Linked DNA regions of Homo sapiens: region 2 is linked to region 1. The links are contacts of gene promoters, found by promoter capture Hi-C in human tissues and cell types (Jung and others, 2019). All regions are on one chromosome and are shown on one strand. Each heading gives the region's core, a stretch centred on a gene start or on the middle of the fragment in contact. The rest is flanking DNA. Distances are from core to core; before and after follow the strand shown. Region 1 holds the start of KCNK3 (potassium two pore domain channel subfamily K member 3). Region 2 overlaps CIB4 (calcium and integrin binding family member 4).

Region 1 (3,372 bases), core at 380-2,879:
AAATAGGCATGACCACACCTACCTTTCAGGATTGTGGTGAGGACCAGAGATGATGAATCCCTGACACACAACAGATGCTTAATAAATACTTGTTGAAGGAATGAAGGGGTTGGTGGCACTTCTGGGGTGTCATTGGAGGAGTGTAGTGTCCGGCAGTGACAGGTCAGCCCAGCCTGTGGGTAGACAGTGCTCCAGCTTCTGGCTGACTGCCTCCTGAGTCTGCTCTCAGTCAGGGGCCTTGGTGTCTCTTCCCTGTCTCTCTGCCTGGCCCATGCCAGGGTCCTGTGAAGGACTTTTTAACCCTTCTTGGCACTGAGATTTGCATTCCAATCATTCTGCTCACTCAGCCCATCCAAGTCTGGAGTTGTTTAGAGCTGGGCAAGGCCTGTGGGATCATCTGCTACGACACCTCGTTGAAAAGATAAGGAAACAAGGCTCTGAGAGGGTCAGTAATGCCTGAGTTTCCACTACCCTTCCCACCTCACCACCATAGCCACCATGTTTGACAAATGAAGAAACTGAGGCATAGGGACCCCCTCTCCTGCCCCAGTTCCCGCAGTCTGCCAGTGAGCCTCCTGCTCTGGGCCCCACCTGCCCAATTCCAGCTAGATCCCGGTTCTGCTGGGATGCCCTAAGGTGGTGGCAGGTGCTATCTCTGGCAACTCAGCCTAAGCCCAGCCTGGTGCACGGGTGCAAGACAGGAACCATGGGAGTCGGGACAGCCTAGAAGCCCCTGGGAGCGAAGCAGGAGGCCTAGACTCCCAGCCTGTGCCTTCTCAGCCAGTTCCAAGAACTGTGCTGACCTGGGAAGGCACACATTGCCTGAGAACAGGGCTTTCCCTTGGGTGTCAGCTCATGTGTGCCCAGGTCCACAGCTGGGCCCTGCCTGCTTCCAAGACAGCCAGAGTCTGGCCCAAGGGAGGAAGGAGTGTGGCCTGGGAGGAAGGAACGCTTGGCTGAGTCCCAGTGCTGTCACGAAATCACTGCGTGCCCATGCGTGTCACTTGACCTCTCTGGGCCTCCATTTCCTCATCCATAGGATAAGGGCAGGACAGCGAGGCCCCAAGTGCCTCCTGGCTGCAATATGCTGTGATGAGGGTGGAGGGTGGGGTGGGGAGGGGCTCGCTCTGCCTTCCTTGCCTTCCTGTCTGTTTCTCTGTCATTAGTTTATCTCCAGCAATCCAGGCCTCTCTGTCTCAGTCTGTTGCTCTCTCTGTTTCCATCTTTTGCTCTGTATTTTTCTGCCCGCCTCTCTTCTTTTTCTGTCTGAGTGCACCTCTGATTTTATCTCCTCCTCTGTCACACAGCCCCCTTCCCTCAGTCCTACACTGCCTTTCTCCCATTCTCCGTAGTTATCAGCGTTTCGCTGTCTAGTTTTCTCTGTCTCTCGGGCTCGCTCTCTCTCTCTTTCTCTCTCTCTGTCCTGCCCGGGCTCTCTCGCGGCCGCCCCTCCCGTCCCCTCCGCCAGCCCCCCTCCTCCCTCCTCGGCGCGTCTCCCCAGTCCTTATTTGGCTGGGCGGGAGGGCTGGCGGGAGGAGGCGGCCTGCGGGCGGGGGGCGGGGGGCGGGCGCGGGGCCGGGCGGAGGAGGGCGGTGGGTGGTGCTGAAGGGACAGCTCCGCGGCGGCGGCGGCGGCGGCGGCCCCGGGCGCTGAGCGGGTGCCCGGCGCGGAGAGCGGCGAGCGCAGCCATGCCCCAGGCCGCCTCCGGGGCAGCAGCAGCGGCGGCCGGGGCCGAGGCGCGGGCCGGGGGCGCCGGGGGGCCGGCGGCGGCCCGGGCGGGACGATGAAGCGGCAGAACGTGCGCACGCTGGCGCTCATCGTGTGCACCTTCACCTACCTGCTGGTGGGCGCCGCGGTCTTCGACGCGCTGGAGTCGGAGCCCGAGCTGATCGAGCGGCAGCGGCTGGAGCTGCGGCAGCAGGAGCTGCGGGCGCGCTACAACCTCAGCCAGGGCGGCTACGAGGAGCTGGAGCGCGTCGTGCTGCGCCTCAAGCCGCACAAGGCCGGCGTGCAGTGGCGCTTCGCCGGCTCCTTCTACTTCGCCATCACCGTCATCACCACCATCGGTAACGGCTCGCCGGGCGGGGGGCGGGAACCCAGGGCTGGGCGCGGGGCTCCGGGAGTCGTCCGGGGCCGGCTGGGGCTGGGGGCGGGGGCTCCCCCGAGAGGGGCTGGGCGCCGAACCCTGCGCTCGCAGAAACCCGAGTTCAGCCTGGCGTGTGTGCTCCGCGGGGACGGAACTCGGGGAGGCGTCGATTCCTGGCTCCGGACCTGACTCTCCGGCCGGGCCAGCCCTAACTTGGCCCTGCCATGTTGCATAGGCCCCCAGGGACTCCGAAGTGTGTGAGAGGGGCAGGGACGACCGGCGGAGGCTCGGGCAGGAGGGGTGTGGCCGGGCCAGGCCCTGAACAGGGCGCTGAGAGTGAGCGGCGGGAGAGCGCCAGTGCTCCGTATCCCTGAGGATCGGCTTCCACAGCCTAGCAGGTCTACACCTGCTGGGCTCTGGGGAGGCATGAGGATGTCGGAATGCGGCACTTCGGGGCACTTGGGGCCACCCTATAACGGCGGCTGTGAGTGTACGTGTGTCTGCGTGTTTCAGCTCCAGGAGTTTGGTCGCCACCAGTCAGTGCCTGTGATTTTCTCAGAGCGGCAGAATTGGTGCGGGAAGCCAGATCTGGCCTTGTCAGCCTTCTTCTCTGCTGTCCCAGCAAAACAGTCACCTCACAGGAATAACCCCAGTTCTTTCCAAGCCAGGGCAGATCACCATGTAGGAGGCCACACGTACACCCAGACTGTCAGACAACACAGGCATAGGCACACATGCACACAGATACACACAGGCACTCACAGGGTACACACAGGGCGGGCACACACACACACACACACAGAGAGAGAGACAGAGAGAGAGAGAGAGAACAAACGTTGCCCAGGAAAGGAATCTCTAGCCAGGCCCTTGGTGGTGCTATTCAAAACTGTCCAGACGGGAATAACACCTTACCTGTCCCCAACACCCTATGATTTCAGCCCAGCTCCATCACTACCGTGATATATGACCTTGGGCAAGTCCCTTCCCCTGTCTGGGTCTCAGGCTCACCTCCAGACAAGGAGGGGTGGCCAAAATGATCTCAAGAGCTCCTCCCCAGCCCCGACGTGCTTGGATTCTGAGATGAAACCCACCTTCCCCCAAAGCCCATTGAGATGCCTCCAGAAGCAGTTTCCTCTGTCTTTACTGTTCCCTCTCCTCTCCCTAGTCCCCTTCCCTGCCTTGATCAGACTCCCAGGGGTTCGTTGCCACTTAGCGCAGCCCATGAAGATGGCATTGTTTTCCTGGGAGTCAACAGGAGCTGAGGGAGTAAAAGGCAGGACTAGACA
Region 2 (3,372 bases), core at 441-2,940, 110 kb before region 1:
AGGGGAACACAGCCCGGTTCAAGTACACCTGGGGCTGAAGCAGCCCCTCCTCTGTAGCCAGCGATTAGACACCTCCCCCAGGACAGTGTAAATAAGAAAAACCCAATGGGGGGCTTCTTCTGTGTCTCAAAGTCCCTGAGGAGCTGGACCCCAAAGGCTGTCTGTGGTGGCCAAATTCATTCCAGGGCTTGGCTGAATAGCAAAGCAAATAAACTCTAATTGCTGGTCCCACAATCAGGGCCAAGATGCCTTCTCCCTCAGAAGGGGAGTGGGGAGCCGGGCACCGGCTGGAATGGCTGCTATGTGCACGTCTCTGTGCAGCTGTGAACTGTGAGGTGCTGGGGGTCGGGGGTTTTGATGAAGGGAGGGAAGGACATGTATCTTGCTAGGGACCTTCATCCCATTTGGCTTGGCCCCCTGCTATGACATGGGTTGAGATTTGAACTATTCCCTCAGAAAGATTGCCACCCCAGCCTGCTTGACATCGCTGGCACACTGAAGCCCTGGAAAGGGCAGTTCTTAATAAAAAGTACCATGTATGACCCTGCATTTAAAAAGCGATGATCTGATGGGCTAAGGAAAAGCTTTTTCTTTTATCTAATAAACAATATTCTAGAGGTGAGTGTGGGCCCAGTACAAAGTCATACTTCAAACCAGCTCCCTCCAGTGCTGGAGGGGGTTCGATTCCTGTGGTCTCCCTCGAGGCTGCCATGTCAGGTGTTTGCCGCTACATCAGCATCCCCAGAAGTGAATCCGAAAGGAGCTGAAAGAAAGAATCCCGTGAGCCATGTGAGCCCGCAGGTCCAAGGGGCCCTCTGACTCCTGGGTTCACAGTAGTCCTGGAGGCTCCCTCCCCGGCCTGCATCTCGTGTCCCTTTCTCTGGGTGACGGCCACTTTGCAGCCATCCCAAAGCAACCCCAAACCTTCTTTAAGCTTCTTTCAGCATCACCCCAAGGCAAAGGCAGGGCACCAGAAGGAACCTTGTGGTGCTCGAATCAGTGGAAAGAAATGGAAGAGATTCAAAGAGAAACTCTGAGCAGTCGGGGTGCCAGCTTCAATTATGTGCTGGGCTGTGACAGAACAAGAGGAGTTAGCTTTGGCTGGGGTGGTCCCAAGTGTGCATCCTTAGAGAGGGGCCACCCAGGCCACAGGCCCTAGCAGGCCTGTTGGAATGAGGAGCCCCCTCCTCATCCAGGCAGTCAGAAGAGGGGAGGACCCCTGACCATGGCCACTCAGATTCTGTCTCTGGGGATTTGGAGTCAGAGCTGAGAGGTGTTACTCAGGAGTCACTGAAAGTCACTCAAGACCAAGGAGGTATAAACTTGACCACTGCAGGGAGGCCGTGCATGGTCTTATGTCTGACAAAGCGGAGACAGCTGGTGCACAGCACAGAGTGAGCGTGGAGGGGCGATGGGAGGCAGAGACGTTGGCACAGAGGGACCCAGCAGCCCCGGGCTCCTGCCCTGGTGCTGGCTGAGGTCTAGCTCTTTGCTCTGTTTCCCTTAGTCTGTAAAAGCACCTTGAGTGGGCATACTTGAAATCAGCGCACCTCTGAGACCAGGGGCAGAGTCGGACCCAGGAGCAGGAGACGCCAGCTCCACCCGGCTGGTCCTCCATGGCACGCGCTGCCTCCAGGGGGCACGCATCTCCCGAAAGCAGCAGCACCCCAAAAAGACTTCAACGTGGCCAGGGAGATCTGGAGATGGCCAGCCTTCTCAAGGACGTTTGGGCCTCAGAAGACCCTTTGGGCCCCTCCTGCTCTAAGAAATAGAATTGGGTGCTTCTCTCATTGTTTCTTTTCTATGAGCTCCACCACCAGCATCTTCAGATCCCCCCTGTAAACCCCTACCTCCCAGTTGGCCGCTGGAGGCAGTGGGGTCGTCAGGAGCCTAGTGGGCTTTGGGAGAAGCACAGAGGTGTGTCAGCTGGCACAGGGAATGCTCTGAGGTTGGAGCTGTGACGTCATTCCCAAAGCCTGGGATCCAGTCCTCTCCTCTGCCTTTTAATACCCCAGGGTTACCTAATTTCTCAGAATCTCCAGTTTTGCTGACTCTGAAAGAATCTGCAAAGTATTCTGGAAACTCACAGCCTTCTTGGGAAGACTGAGATGTCCCATGGAGTGAGGAGAGACTGGGGGCCCTTCCTGCCCCCACCACTCTCCTGGACAGTCTCACCCCCTCCAGAATGCCTTACTTCATGAAATCTGGAGACTTGGCCATTGCATGTTCAAACTCTGAGAAGGACAGCATGTTGTCATTGTCCAGATCCGACTCACTCAGGACCTGGCGAGGGAGCACAGAAGACAGTTGAGTGGAACCCCATGTCAGGCAGTGAGGTGGGGCACAGGGTGGAGGGGGAAAGCCACATGCCAGGGGCTCTCCCACATGCTTAACACTTGTCTCCTGGGTCCCCTGACCCCAGTGACCCCACAGAGATTAGGTTATGTGCACCAAAGTTTGGGACCCTACTGGTTGCCTCTCACTCCTGGGGCCTCCAGCACGAGCCTGGCAGTGAGAGAACAAGAGTGTCCCCCACCTGCCCCACCAACCAGTACACACAGGGGCTCTGCACTGAAGGGGGCCCAGGCAGGCAGGGAGGCGGTGGTGACTCCCTCAACAGTGCTTATGGTTTTATCTTCTAGTCCCCATCGAGACTGGAAATGCTGGACACTTGTCATGTTCTGAAAGCAGAGATCCATGCCCTGACTTGAGTTTGCAGGGCCGTCCTCGTGTTTGTCACTCCAGGACACCTGGGCACTGTGTTGTGCTGGGACAGAGTGGGGAGGGGATGTTGAGATGGGTCCCTCTGAGGTTGAGCTGTTGTTGGCCCACCAATGGCAGTCCCTGTCATGTAGGGAGGCCCCTCGAGTGGGTGGGTCGGGCTCCGTGTTCTGGGGACCCTGGAAAGGACTTGGAGGAAGGACAGAAAGTGGAGGGGCAGTTGCCTCCAGCTGTGTGCCCATTCCTCAGGGCACCCTGAGCTGCCTGTCCCCTTGGCAGCCCCCAGGGAATGTGTGCACCAAAGGCCAATGTGTCATCTGCCTCAGGCTGGCCCTGGGTCTCCTCCCAAGAGGGTGGCCTGACATCCGGGGGCTTTGGGTGACAACCTGGCCCCTATCCCCGGCCCCAGCCACCAACTCCCAGCCCCCAGCACACACGTGGTTCGTGAGGTCCATCAGGAGGTCCTCAGACATGTCATCACTGTTCAGCAGTCGCAGGATGATCCTCTGCAGATCCTCCTCATCAATGAAGCCATTCTCATTAAAATCTGCAAAGAAGAGGCCAGGCCTGCATTAGACGGAGCTGGGGGCTAAACAGGAAGAGGACTTGAGGAGTCCTGGGGGACACAGCACCAGCCAGGACCCCACAGAT

The links. Contacts are between HindIII fragments. The study calls those that stand out against the background at their distance.
Region 2: a fragment that was not itself captured here is called in contact with the fragment with the promoter of KCNK3 in region 1 in 4 of the 25 tissues and cell types used here (bladder, mesenchymal stem cells, spleen and 1 more).

Annotation. Positions count from the first base shown.
Region 1 is chr2:26,691,093-26,694,464 of GRCh38, forward strand. It overlaps KCNK3 (potassium two pore domain channel subfamily K member 3), which reads left to right and starts at 1,630. Exons shown (of 2, transcript NM_002246.3): 1 at 1,630-2,066. The coding sequence starts at 1,784. The HindIII fragment of the contact is 34,558 bases long and covers 1-3,372 here.
Region 2 is chr2:26,580,631-26,584,002 of GRCh38, forward strand. CIB4 (calcium and integrin binding family member 4) reads right to left here. Exons shown (of 7, transcript NM_001029881.3): 5 at 3,159-3,268; 6 at 2,195-2,283; 7 at 575-763. The coding sequence ends at 733. Among named protein-coding and RNA genes, the nearest start is that of CIMIP2C, 20 kb to the left of the region's middle. The HindIII fragment of the contact is 6,746 bases long and covers 1-3,372 here.